5 separate regions of the Homo sapiens genome follow, and regions 1, 3, 4 and 5 are each linked to region 2. Evidence: promoter capture Hi-C in 16 types of primary human blood cells and fetal thymus (Javierre and others, 2016). All regions are on one chromosome and are shown on one strand. Each heading gives the region's core, a stretch centred on a gene start or on the middle of the fragment in contact. The rest is flanking DNA. Distances are from core to core; before and after follow the strand shown. Region 1 overlaps GAS2 (growth arrest specific 2). Region 2 holds the start of SLC17A6 (solute carrier family 17 member 6). Region 3 overlaps GAS2 (growth arrest specific 2). Region 4 overlaps GAS2 (growth arrest specific 2). Region 5 overlaps GAS2 (growth arrest specific 2).

Evidence for each region. Contacts are between HindIII fragments. The CHiCAGO score rates a contact against its expected background, and 5 or more counts as called.
Region 1: a contact is called between a fragment that was not itself captured here and the fragment with the promoter of SLC17A6 in region 2, in 13 of 17 cell types (erythroblasts, naive B cells, naive CD8 T cells and 10 more). The highest score is 13.3, in erythroblasts.
Region 3: a fragment that was not itself captured here is called in contact with the fragment with the promoter of SLC17A6 in region 2 in 4 of 17 cell types (naive CD8 T cells, total CD8 T cells, naive B cells and 1 more); the score reaches 8.2 in naive CD8 T cells.
Region 4: a fragment that was not itself captured here is called in contact with the fragment with the promoter of SLC17A6 in region 2 in 2 of 17 cell types (naive CD4 T cells and naive B cells); the score reaches 5.5 in naive CD4 T cells.
Region 5: a contact is called between a fragment that was not itself captured here and the fragment with the promoter of SLC17A6 in region 2, in 11 of 17 cell types (naive B cells, total CD8 T cells, naive CD8 T cells and 8 more). The highest score is 16.0, in naive B cells.

Annotation. Positions count from the first base shown.
Region 1 is chr11:22,807,006-22,809,705 of GRCh38, reverse strand. All of the region lies in intron 7 of GAS2 (growth arrest specific 2), which reads right to left. Among named protein-coding and RNA genes, the nearest start is that of LINC02718, 21 kb to the left of the region's middle. The HindIII fragment of the contact is 3,456 bases long and covers 1-2,700 here.
Region 2 is chr11:22,337,003-22,339,702 of GRCh38, reverse strand. It overlaps SLC17A6 (solute carrier family 17 member 6), which reads right to left and starts at 1,322. Exons shown (of 12, transcript NM_020346.3): 1 at 1,084-1,322. The coding sequence starts at 1,169. It overlaps SLC17A6-DT (SLC17A6 divergent transcript), which reads left to right and starts at 1,481. Exons shown (of 4, transcript NR_186351.1): 1 at 1,481-1,708. The HindIII fragment of the contact is 7,348 bases long and covers 1-2,700 here.
Region 3 is chr11:22,698,739-22,701,438 of GRCh38, reverse strand. The region is part of intron 3 of GAS2 (growth arrest specific 2); the gene reads right to left. Among named protein-coding and RNA genes, the nearest start is that of GAS2, 33 kb to the right of the region's middle. The HindIII fragment of the contact is 2,861 bases long and covers 1-2,700 here.
Region 4 is chr11:22,681,166-22,683,865 of GRCh38, reverse strand. The region is part of intron 2 of GAS2 (growth arrest specific 2); the gene reads right to left. Among named protein-coding and RNA genes, the nearest start is that of GAS2, 16 kb to the right of the region's middle. The HindIII fragment of the contact is 3,764 bases long and covers 1-2,700 here.
Region 5 is chr11:22,717,953-22,720,652 of GRCh38, reverse strand. All of the region lies in intron 3 of GAS2 (growth arrest specific 2), which reads right to left. Among named protein-coding and RNA genes, the nearest start is that of GAS2, 53 kb to the right of the region's middle. The HindIII fragment of the contact is 373 bases long and covers 1,251-1,623 here.

The sequences.
Region 1 (2,700 bases), core at 81-2,580, 470 kb before region 2:
CCTGACCAATATGGTGAAACCCCATCTCTACTGAAAAAAAAAAAAAAAAAATTAGCTGGGCATGGTGGCAGGCGCCTGTAGTCTCAGCTACTCGGGAGGCTGAGACAGGAGAATTGCTTGAACCTGGGAGGCAGAGGTGGCAGTGAGCTGAGATCGTGCCACTGCACTCCAGCCTGGGTGACAGAGTGAGACTCCATCTCAAATAATAATGATAATAATAATAATAAATAAATATGGAAATTGACCCTCCCTTGTCTTAAACTTGAAACTTAAATTGGTCTTATCTGAGTTTCTTCCTCAGCAAACTGACCTTTAGGCAAGGAACAGATGACACCAGACAATTAAATGCCAGACTCCTTGCCCCTCCCTAAAATTCCTGTTTTCCTACATGTAGCTACATTCCTTCCCCATTATAGAAACCCTGAATTTTAATTGATTGGTGAAATGAATTCGAGACTGATTTGTTCTTCTTGGTTGCAGCACCCAAATAAAGCCTCCTTCCCTGGCAATACTCATTGTCTTAGTGATTAGCTTTCTATGTAGCAAGCAAGAGGATCTAACCCATGGTGTTTCGGTCACAGTACCATGTTGTTTTACATATGTAGACACTGAGAACCAGATTTTAGGACCCAAGCAAATCAAATCAAAGATCTGGTTCTCAGTGTACGCCTCTGTAAAACAAGAACCTGACTGGAGTCAGGTTGGACTGGAGCCAGATTCTTAGCACCTGACTCCAGTCTAGTCCTTTACTCATGACAGCTTTCACTAAAGAAATAAAATCACTAGGGCTTTTATAATTTCATCCACATATTCATATTCCCACAAGTTTCTGCATGTGTCTTACTGCCAGCTTCCAAAATTTGAAGTCACTGGGACAAAAACTGCCAAGGCCAGTGTCAGAATAACACTTTGATTCTTTCTACCACTGTTCGAGAGAGCAACTTTGCCTATTTTGAAGTTCTGGCACCTCCTAGCTCTGCAAATTACATTTAAGACTTGCCTCCAAACATTCTTGGTATCAATGCCCCTGGCAAAATGCCCAAGTCTAATTCAGTGTTTGTGAGCAGGCCATTTCAACCAGAAAGAACCACCAGTCACAACAGTTTTTAAACAATTCTAGGAAGCAGTGACAGAAACACTTTTCAGCCTGGAGTATGCTGGCCATTTAGGCACATATTCAGTTTGCTAATTTCTTAATGAATCCATAGTACTTTGCAAAGTGGATACAGCATGAAACAGAGTCCCATACTGAATATGAATAATACAGGAATTAAATTTCTGCTCACTTCCTCTTCCACATCCTTTCTACTGCAGATGTTGGTTTCAGTCCAATATTCTTACCACAGTCAATAGGGGAGGATTAGCAGGAAATACTTTTACAATGTATCTAGGTTTACTTTCCTGCCTTTGTAAGAGGAGTCTAATGGACATAATTGTATTTTTGTGAATAACATCTATCTCCAAAGTCTAGCTTTATCATGTGAAGGTTCCTTTGATAAGAGCTATAGTTGGAGGAGGCATACATCTTTGTTGATTGATTTTGTGTCATTGTGAGGCGGAGGGATATATTTGCTGTTTTCTCATTTTGAAACCCGAATCTAGGTTTTTCATGAGATTATCTCATCCTTTTGAAACTTGCCCAAGTGTCCCATAGAACTGATGTTTATGATTTCTTTTGAATAAACATAGACATTGACCCTCCCAGTCTTAAAATTTGAGAAAGTTAAAACTGTCTTATCTGAGTTCTTTTCTCAGAAAATCAATCATCAGGACTCCCAGACAGTGTCAAGCAACTGAAACTTACCAGATCATCACATCTGCACCATGGGAGCCAGACCCCTCACCCATCATGATTGCCTAAGGGACCACCTGCTTCTTGTAACCAACTTCTCCTCCTTGCCCATCCCTAATTCCTGTTTTCCTACACATAGTTATATTTCTTCTCTGCTATATAAACCCCTAATTTTAGTCAGTTGAGATGGATTTGGGACTGATCTCCTATTACAGGCTGCAGCACCTGAAAAAGCCTTCTTTCCTGGCAACACTCATTGCCTAGTGATTGACTTTCCACGCAGAGAGCAATAGGACAAAGACCAAACTGCTGGTGTATTGGTAACAATTTCCCTTTGACTGTTGTTCTGTAGGCAGTAACTGGAGAGGTGTTTTTCTCCAAAGGCGTGAGCTGACCTCCTTCCACTCCCAGGCTTTTAAAGGAAATAATGAACAGACAATTTATAGCTACATTTTAAAAACATGTTCCACAAAATTAGAGAATTGTTTTCCTTTTAGAAACAGATGCAACTTCCTTTAAAACATCTTACGTGAGACACTGCCTTATACGGACACCTTAAGAATGGGACATTACTAATAGTAAAATCAGATATCAGAGGTTTCTTTCTCTTGGAAGATTTCTCCTAGGTATCAGCCTTAGTAGTTTGTTTGGATTTTCCAATTATTGCAAAGACAGTTTTATATTTTTCCTGATCTTCTCTATGGACCTAGTCAGTGCTCTGCAGCTTGGGTCCTTATAAATTTATCAGAACTGTAAAATGCTTCTCTCTTGCTTTGAAGGAGTCGTTTTTTCTTTTTTCTTTGCTTTTCTGTTTCTAAGCTACACTGAAAAAAATGAAAACATACATAAATACACTATTGCCTTTCACTGAATGCTTCCTTGATGCTGTATTTGACAAGGGTGTAAGC
Region 2 (2,700 bases), core at 73-2,572:
TCATTTTCTTTACATTTCTCATGCATTTACAGAGACTTCAATTTCCCAAATATTAAAATTAGTGCTCCTTTGTAATTCTTTTTCCTTTTATGTCTGCCCTGTCGTCTTGATTTTGCTCTAATTATTAAGAAAAGCTGTATCCATATAACATACTTGAAATGATTTAAAGTTTTGCAAATTACAGCATAATTAGTATAGTGACTACAGGAGGATTAAATAATTAAATCATTTCTAGGACTTTCAAAGTAATGTTGCTTGTTATATTTATGGCTGTTCTTCCAGGCATTGACATTTCCTATGCAAGAAATAGACTCTAGGAGATGAAAATAATTAAAAATGCATATACATTGTTTCAGGCTCAGAGAAAGGAATTGCTTCAACTATCAATTATTGATATATTTTGATTCTTCTTCATTCAATACAGAAGACATATTTCACTAGGGGATTCTCTACTATGCTTTTGAAGCTGAGACCTCTCTCTTTCTCTCTCTCTCTAACATATATATATATATATATATATAAAACATATATATATAACATATATATATAACTATATATAACATATATATATAACATATATATATAACATATATATATAACATATATATATAACATATATATATAACATATATATATATATAAACCATTACTCTTTGGAATTTCTTGGTTATTTTTTTAGATGGTTGTGTTTTATATTCATTTGTCTGCATCAAAGGAATTTAATTCGGGGTATCTATAAGCACCAAAAGAAACGCTGTTTGAGCAGGGGCTGGCCATTTCTTAACTGTAAAGAAGATAAATCCTGTGTAGTAAAGGACAAAAACTCTGCAGGCACCAAAGCAAAAATCAAACACACACACACACACACACACACACACACACACACACACCAGACAGGTTCATTTAGTGCAACATTCCTGCATTAATAAGCAGGTTTCCAGAGCACCCCCGCTCCAAGCAATGGGCAACAAAAAGACTTTCCGATCATATTACAATCTTTCTGAGCCACCAGGGTTTACGGAAACGGCCCTGCAGATTTTTTCATGCTGAGCCCCAGGTAAGCAAGTGTTCGCTTTGTCTTACCTGTAGATCTGGCCGAGTGATTTTCCAGCAAAATTCTTTAGCCCCTCTTTTCCTGGGGCCAAAATCCTTTGTTTTACGGATTCCATTCTTGCAAAGACTGTTGTCAGTTCTTGCCAGATTTAAATAGTGATTGCTAGGAAAGGCGAGGATTGCGCATATTGTCTTAATCTCTTAAAGTAGTTGCGGGCTTTTCCTTCTCAGCAGAATGGTAGTGGCTCGCCTCCAGCAAGAGTGAGAGTGAGAGAAGGGAGGGAGAGTGAGAATGAGAATACAACAGAATAGCTGCATGCAACCCACGGGTTTCCTAATAGGAGAGTTGGTAGACACAATCAGAAAGTCTCATTGGAAGGGGAGGATCCGGTGGCAAAGAGCGCAAGCAGTGCCACGGTATTTGGGTAGATGCGGTTGAGTCCTTTTCCTGGAAGTCGGTCAGCTGAAAAACAATGTAAATTCCCGGTTTTGAAGACTTATTGCTCTCAAATCTGATGGCTTTTAAACGGAGGGGCCGGAATATCACAGAAGCCTTGGGAACAGCAAAGTCAAAAGAATGGTACTTTTAAAAATGGTGTCTTTGCTGTAAGGAGCAGAGCATATTCAAAACTCATGGGAGCATCTCAGGTCTCAGGTGAGCAATGCTGCTATTAGTTTTTCCTCTCTGCCCATGATCTCCTCCCATCACGCCAGCGTAAGTCTGCTCTGCGGTAGAGTCAAATTAAGATGGAGAAGGCTTGCTGCTCTTTGAGGACGTGAGTAAATAAAAGATACACAGTTCTGATTTGGGCAGCCTCGGGGAAGATTTTTTTTTTCAGCGGCTGACAGCGCCCGTCTGGGCGGGTCTCGGTACAATGTTTCAGCACCACGGACAGAGTAAGTTTCAGGAATAGGGGACTCTTCTTTTGGCTAGCTAGGTTGCCAACTTTCTAGGGGAGCTGGGCGGATCGCCCTGACCAAGGACCATACGGGGGCTCTTCAGGAACGGATGCTATGGAAACCATTGGGAAGATGTCATCATCTCCAGAGTTTGCAGGGAGAATGGTGCATTTAGCTCTGCTAGGGAAGACAACTTTATTAAAAATTCACAAGTTACTTCTAGTTTGCTACGTTTTGTCCAGCACGCTGATGCCAGTATTGCAGGGAAGAAAGATTTCAACATATTTAACTTATGCTTGTGGTGTTCCAAGACACCTAGGCTCCCTTGAATATAAAATATGTGCACACAAAATACATAATTACATTGTTCATGTGTTTGTTTTAACTCCTGACAGGAAAAAGATGAAAGAAAGAAAGGGAGAGAATGAAGAATAGAGGAAAGGAGAGATAAAGAAAAAGAGGTGGGAGGTATGGAGAGAAGAAAAAAGAATAGCTATAAACTCAGTGAAGTTGATTAAATAAAATACAGTTAATTTAATATAAATTCCTTGGAATTTTAAGCATCTTTATTTAACTAATTTACAATACACTACTGAAATACCAATATACTGATGAAATATGTGGCTATACCTTGTGCTTGCCAACAAATTGTAATTGATAATTTAAAGATTTATTTTTAAAAAGATTTATTTTAATTTACATATATTCCATTCAAATCTTATTTTATTTTTCTTTGTATGTCCTTCT
Region 3 (2,700 bases), core at 101-2,600, 360 kb before region 2:
ATTTAAATCACACCCTTTAAATCACAACTATCTTTCTCACCATGAAGACAAATGCACATTAACACCCACAGCCAATAACATCATCTCTTGTTGCTAACATATACTCAAACTATCCAATTTTAAAGTAACATATATAAGTAGGACTCAATTATTATAAAATATTTGTTGTTGGTAATATTCAATATTATAAAAGATTGATAAAATGAACTTGCTATACTCCATGATCATATTTAACTCCTTTTGAGTTACCTATTGTTTAATAACACATTTTCAGAAAGTCGATAGCAGTATTTACTGTGCAGTTTTCCTAAGTACTAGAATTCTGATTCTCTCCTGCAGTTTTATAGAAATTGTATTTTTACATTGGTTGTTAAATAGTGCTTTGGCAGACAGCAATTAGCTGCTCTGATAGAAAATAAAGGTTCTAATATTCTCATTTCCCTCACCAACTATTTTATTGAGCAAAAGAGGCAGTTATTGGGAAAAAGATGCAAAAGAAAAAAAATGATTTCATCTTTATGTCTCCTCTAGTAATCGAAAGACACAGCACTTCGTTTCAGGTCAAAAACATCTTTTGAGAACCTGTTACCTAAAAGCCCTACAATTTAATTTTTCTTCCTAATTTTCAATGGTGAGCAAATTCATGAAACCATTAGCTATCGCTCATCTGATGCTTATTTTATACTGCAAGCAGTATAATCAGGCCTTGAAAAGAAATCCTCAAACTGAATGAACCATTGGATATAAATATGCTCATTTTTATCATAATTTTTACCTTTATATAATGCTCTGAACTCAAATAATACATCATGTCACTATATAATAACATTTACAATTAACTAAATGATTATCCTCCTCCAAGATCCACTTTTTCTTAACTAGTTTAAATCCCCATGGTCTGTTACTTCAGCCAATCTCTTGTCAGTGCTTTTAACGTCCTCAGATCCTTATTGTTTCCCTAGACCATTCTAAAATTCTCAAATCTTCCGTCTTTACGACTGGAAAAGTCAGATTTGCTCCTCATGCTTTGTCACATCAAAGGCTTTTGAGCTAAGCAAACAGGCAGAGGGGGGAATTTCAAACTTAATGAGAATAAAGTCTTCAGGATTAAAAAGCAAAGATGGCTAAAACCCACGGATAACAGTATTCTGGATCTAAAGGTAAATATCCATCTTGGGGCATTTATTTATTCATTCATCCAACACCATGTCTACTGAGCATCTATATGCTAGGTATTATGTTAGACTCACAGATGAATAGAACATAAACTATGTACTCAAGGATCTTAGAGTCTAGCAAAGGGATAAAGACTAGGAAACAACTAAGTACAACAGTATGGTACAAGAAAGAGGGGTTAACATGCAGATGGACAAACCGTAAGAAAGAGGCCAGATCTACAGATACAGAGTGTAGAGACTGCAAGGGCATCTCTACACTTCCAGTATCCTTTTCCCTTCTTAGGTAAGAGCATATTAATTTTCCATAGGGACACTATGGTTCTTTCATTTTATTCAGACTGAGCAATCAAGGTATGAAGCCATGATCTAGTCAGAAAGTTGGCTGTCCATCAGGCTCTTTCTTGCTGAAATGTTAATCTTGAGAGGAATGATACAATAAAGTTAACAGCTAAATGTTAATGAGCACCCATATGTACTAGGTACCACTCAGTGCTTGTGTATACTAACTTACTTAGTCCCCATAATAACCAAATGAGGTAGCTACAATTATTACTACATTTTACAAATGAGAAAACTAACGCACAGAGGAGGAGTTATGATTTCAACCCAGGTAGTATGACTACTGAGTATACACTATTAACCATTTCTGTTCAGCTGCCCTCTCTAAAAATGTCTGAAATTATTCACCCTAACAGTGGTACTGTGAAATGACTGTGTATCTATGCTGCATAATCCTTGCAAATAGTCTAATTCTTAAGCCCTCCAAATCCAGTTTCACTTTCCTTCACATGTCTTTTTTCTCTAAGCAGTACCCCCATATCTTTCCAATACATTCTTTTGGCAGTAAATTCATCTTTTCCAATAATTTCAGATTTAAAAAATCTACCTGTCACCTGATTCCCCACAAGGCATTTCTCTTCCCTGAATGCATAGTAAAGAGTTTGGGTCCCTTTGTAGATTTGAAGGAAGGGGTACAGTAAAGACTTGAGATCATTACTCCCCTCATTTAGAATTCTCCCTTCATTCTGTACATTTATCTCAATAAATTCATCTTTTCCAAAAATTTCTTTGGTACCAGAGTATGGAGTTAAGTTGTCAGGACTCAGAAAAATATGTTATATTTGGAATTGGTGTTGAGACCGATAATGGAACACAACTGTGGAATAGAAAACTAGCAGCCTATGCTATTTACACAGGGGCTAGAAAAGAAACAGATTTTGTGGGGGCTTGAGCTTATTTTATTTGGGTGCTTTCCTTATAGAAAACAACAGAATTATAAACACAAAATAAGATATGGAATTAAACATTTTAGCCTAATAAAATAAAGCACAAGAAATTAATAACTTTTAAAAGATGGTAAACACTAGAACCATCACAAAGCACAGAAAAACAACATAATATTTCTTATTAATTAACTGCATGAATGAATGCTACTTCACATTTTCTTAAATATTCTTGTTTTATACTGTTTGGTCACCTCTTCTTAAAACAATGTTTTATCTTTGGTTCTGTTTATATGCTG
Region 4 (2,700 bases), core at 30-2,529, 340 kb before region 2:
TGAGGTATATCTTTTTTATTATTATTTTTTGTATCTCCTACAGAGGTAAGCATAATGTTATTCACATACTAGGCACCTAGTAAATGTGCTCAGTGAGCATGTGAATGAACAAATGAAGAAATAAGCTGCTAGAAAACTTTGAGAAAACATTAATATTATTTTTGTGAAACACAGTTAAGTCAAAAGCAAAAAAAAAAAAAGAAATTATTTTAAAGTTTTATACCAAGATGCTCAAGGCTTATCTTTTATCTTAAGAAACAGGCATGTAGTTCAATTCCATGAACCTTAAAATAAATATAATCTGGCCGGGTGCAGTGGCTCACTGTAATCCCAGCACTTTGGGAGGCCAAGACAGGCAGATCACCTGAGATCAGGAGTTCAAGACCAACTTGGCTAACTTGGTGAAACCCTGCCTCTACTAAAAATACAAAAATTAGCCAGGTATTGTGGCACATGCCTGTAATTCCAGCTACTTGGGAGGATAAGGCAGGAGAGTGGCTTGAACCTGGGAGGCGGAGGTTGCAGTGAGCAGATATCACACCACTGCACTGCAGCCTGGGTGACAGAGTGACACTCTGTCTCATAAATAAATAAATAAATAAAATCCGACTGGAACAACAGATGAACCATTTAAGTTAAACTCAGAATATCTAATATATTTGGATTTCAAGAAACATCTGCTTAAAATGACTTTTTTTTTCCATTTTTGGGAGCAGTCTTAAGGAAAACAAATTACTTTTTAAGTAGTTCATATTTTAGCCCCCAATTAAAATAATGACTTCTGCAGGTGGAAAAACATCAGTAGCTTTAAATACTCACCACACAGGTAGCCTGTGCAGAACTTTTATTTCAAAATTGTGTGCAGCTCAGTTCAGAAATGAAAGTAGCATGCCCAAAATACAAAAAAGCCAGTGTAACAGAATTTGTATTGTGTATTCATCATATTGGCCTGCATTTTCTCTTTTTTTTTTTTTTTTCCTTTTTTTTTTTTTTTTTAGCAGAAAGTGACTAACCACAGGCTGGAGTGCAGTGGTGCGATCTCGTCAGGCTGGAGTGCAGTGGCACGATCTTGGCTCACTGCAACCTCTGCCTCCCAAGTAGCTGGGACTACAGGCATGCACTACCATGCCCACCTAATTTTGGTATTTTTAGTAGAGACAGGGTTTCACCATGTTGGCCTGGATGGTCTCGATCTGTTGACCTAGTGATCTGCCCGCCTCAGCCTCCCAAAGTGCTGGGATTACAGGCATAAGGCACCACGCCAGGCCACATTTTCTAATAAGAAAATTATTTCACAAAATTACAGAAAGTAAATATTAGAAATAATTCTCTTAATTATAATGTTATTCAAATAAGTTTAAATTTTAAGATAAAGAAGATAAACTTTACTCTAAATTGTTGAATTATTTCTTTACAAATTATTTGCAAGATTTTCTACGTTTGTAATAGATCTTTATGTATTCTTATTTCATTAAGTTCTATGGCAATTTGAAGATTCCATTCATAATTTTAAGTTATAAGATAGTTACAATATACTTAAAACAACACATAAATCATAAAAAGAAAAAAATGGCTTTCATTAAAAAGCCATTAACAATTTACCAAAAAGTATGATTTTTACTTTTTATACATTATATCTTTTTAGTTATCCTGTTTTTCATGAATACTTGTAAAAAGAATTTTACATTGAACATCTGTATCTAATGAAAAATATATTAGGTGTCAGCTTTCAATTCTGTATATTTTATAGCTCTGAAAGGTGAGTTTTTTTTGGCAAAAACAGACTATTACATACTTTATAGTTGAAATGTACTACCTCAAATGAAGAAAAAACACAAGTCTGAGACTTTTTAAAATAACTTCATGTGTAACATATTTTCCTTCCAATGATTAAAAATTATTAAATATATACTTTATGATTACAATCAATGTATGATTGTAAGAAATCAGTTATAATCTTTATATGGGGATGATATATTATCTCATTATTACATTAATATTAATATTATCAACAGTATTTTTTTCAAAAAAATATAATATAAAAGTAGCTGAATTTATCCATGGCAAATTCTTAAGAACAGGCTGTGTAGAAATAATTACACTTTCTCAAGTAAAAGTCATACAAAGGTAAATATCTCTGTTACACAGAATCAAATCTTCTTTAGTTTAAATTGTGCACCTGGTTTAACACATCAGACTACATGTACTGGAAGCAGTGTGATTTTAGCACCAGAGAATCATTTCTTCCCTAACCTCAGCATTTCATTGTGGTTGGTGTTTGTAGGGAAAGAAAGAACAATAAATGAATACAATTAAATCATGTTAAAGTCCTGACCGGTGCTGGTCCGTAAAGACATTGGTTTGAACATTAATCTAGAGTGTCCTAGTTTAGAAGTAATAGTTTCACTTCCTAAATTTATAATTGCGATATTTGATCTTCGCATGATTAATTTAGTCAAGAATGACAACTTGCCAGTAGATCAAAATCAGGAAATTTGATTAAATATTGTGGCTAGTTGCTTTATGTTAAAACATTATAGCTCAATGGTGGGATTTCAGTTGCCTGAAATCTTTTGCCAGGCAACTATAATCAACATGCATACACATACACATCAGTGTATTCCTCCCAGAAATATGTTTGCCATAACTTTTATAAAGATTTACATATCAGCCTATAAGTGTTTTAGACTGGGGCCACCT
Region 5 (2,700 bases), core at 188-2,687, 380 kb before region 2:
AGAGTGTACGGTTCAAATAGGCAGGCAATAAACTCACTCTTTCCATGATGGAATTAATGTTTCCGCCTGTATCCCCTTGCTACTTTTAGTTTCACTGTATATTTAATAGAAAAAATAATCTCTTTCAATAAAATTATTTCCTTGAACATTCATAGTATCAAGGTATCTAACTATAACAACCAAGTGGCTTGAAAAATGATGAAAATATAGTCTTTAAGATAAAAATTATAGAAATGTTTAAAAAGGGAAAAAAAACTTTGTGGTATCTTAACCCTCTCCTGGGGACTCTGCAGTAAGACCCTGTGCCTCAAGCAGTGAGCTATGATTTAGGACAGTTGAACACACTAAGCTTGAATCCAAAATTGACCCTTTCTGCTTTCTCCCTCTCCAAGATAAATTCCACTTTATATAGAACAGATCTTAGATCAAAATTTTAGTGCAATATTCATGCTGTAATGCCATAGGAATATTCACATACACAAAAAGGAAATATAAAACAAGTTTCTCAGAGCAGAGTTTTAGTACACCTTTCTTCCTCTAAAATCATGAAATTAATCACTTAACTAACAAAGTTGGCAAATAAGTACAGCACTTTGAATTATCTGAAATCATCTCTGGAGTAATATAAACTAATGTTTGAAATGAAGGTCAAACCTAGTCCTCAAACCTCAGGCTTACAAGATGGACAATAAAAGTTACTATGTAAATAAGTTGAAAACATATCTACTAAAAACCTGCCCATGGATGCTTATAGCAGTTCTGTTCGTTGGAAACAACCAAGATGTCCTTTAGTAGATGAATAATAAAGAAACGATTGTAAAGTCAGACAATGGATTATTCGGTGCTAAAAATAAAGAGCTATCAAGTCATGAAAACACAAGGTGGAAGTTTAAATGCATATTACTAAGTGAAAGAAGCCAATCTAAAAAAATACTACAGGCTGTATGATTCCAACTACATGACAATCTGGAAAAGGCAAACCATGAAGACAGTAAAAAGATCAGGGTTTAGCAGGGAGGGATGGATGAAAAGGTAGAGCACACAGAATTGTTAGGTCAGTGAAACTATTCTGTATGTAATTATATTGGTGGATACACGTCATCTGTAAAAACCCAGACTGTTTAACACTAAGAGTGAACCCTAAAAACTATGGACTTTGGGTGACAATGTGTTAATGTAGGTTCAATGACTGTTAACAAATATACCACTCTGGTGTACTTTCCACTCAATTTTGCTGTGAACTGAAAGCTTCTCTAATAGGTGAAATCTAAAAATGTTGAACTCATAAAGTCAGGGACTAGAACGGTGATTGCCAGGGGTAGGAGAAAGGGGTTGAGGGCTTGGGAGATGTTAGTCAAGGGTACAGTTTCAGTTAGCCAGCATGAGTAAGTGCTGGAGATCTATTGTACAACCTGGTGACTATTATTAATAACAATGTATCACATAATAATTGCTAAGAGAGAAGATTTTAAACGTTCTCGTCAGAAAAAAATAAGTGGAGTGATGAATATTTTAATTACCTTGATTTAATCATTTCATAACGTATGCATATATGAAAACATCACAAATACACCATAAATATATGTAATTTTTGTTACATGTTAATTATACCTTAACAAAGCTTTAAAAAAATGTCTACAAAAAGATTACTATGTCATTGATAGTTTGAGAAGTATCAAATGCTTCGCAAAGGGGAAAGTATAGGAAGTTTGACAACAAATGCATTCCTTCCATTTTTATATACTGTGTGCCTAATTTATATATACATCCACATGGGAATCATCATCAACTACGAACAGCTTCTTTTCTCCCAACTAATCGTTTGCATATGAACAGACTGAGATTAATTTCTTAAAACCTCCAAAAATCTAGTTCTACACTTTAAAATTAAGTCAATTGGTGAGCCTATCTAAAAAATTTAAATAGAAATCTCAGTGTTCATAATGAGGAGTAATAGAAAGATTTTAATATTTATTATTATTATTATTATTTCAATAGTTTTGGGGAAACAGGTGGTGTTCCATTACATGGCTAAGTTCTTTAGGTATAATTTCTGAGATTTCGGTGCACCCATCACTTGAGCAGTGTACAATGTACCCATTGTGCTGTCTTTTATCCCTCAACCCCCTCCCACCCTTCCCCCAAAGTCCCCATAGTCCATTATATTATTCTTATGCCTTTTCATCTTCATAGCTTAGCTCCCACTTATAACTGAGAACACACAATGTTTGGTTGTCCATTCCTGAGTTACTTCACTTAGAATAATGGTCTCGAACTCTATTCAGGTTGCTGTGAATGCCATTATTTCATTCCATTTTATGACTGAGTAGTATTCCATGATACATATATACACACAAACATACACATACACACACACACCATATATATATATATGACACATTTTCTTTATCTACTTATTAGTTGATGGATATTTAGGCTGGTTCCATATTTTCGCAATTGCAAATTGTGCTGCTATAAACATGCGTGTGTAAGTGTCTTTCATATAATGACTTATTTTCTTCTGGGTAGATACTCAGTAGTGGGATTGCTGGATCAAATAGTATTTGCACTTTTAGTTCTTTAAGGAATCTCCATACTGTTTTCCATGGTGGTTGTATTAGTTTAATTTCCCACCAGCAGTAAAAAAAAGTGTTCCTTTTTTTACCATAGCCATGCCAACATCTATTATTTTTTGATTTT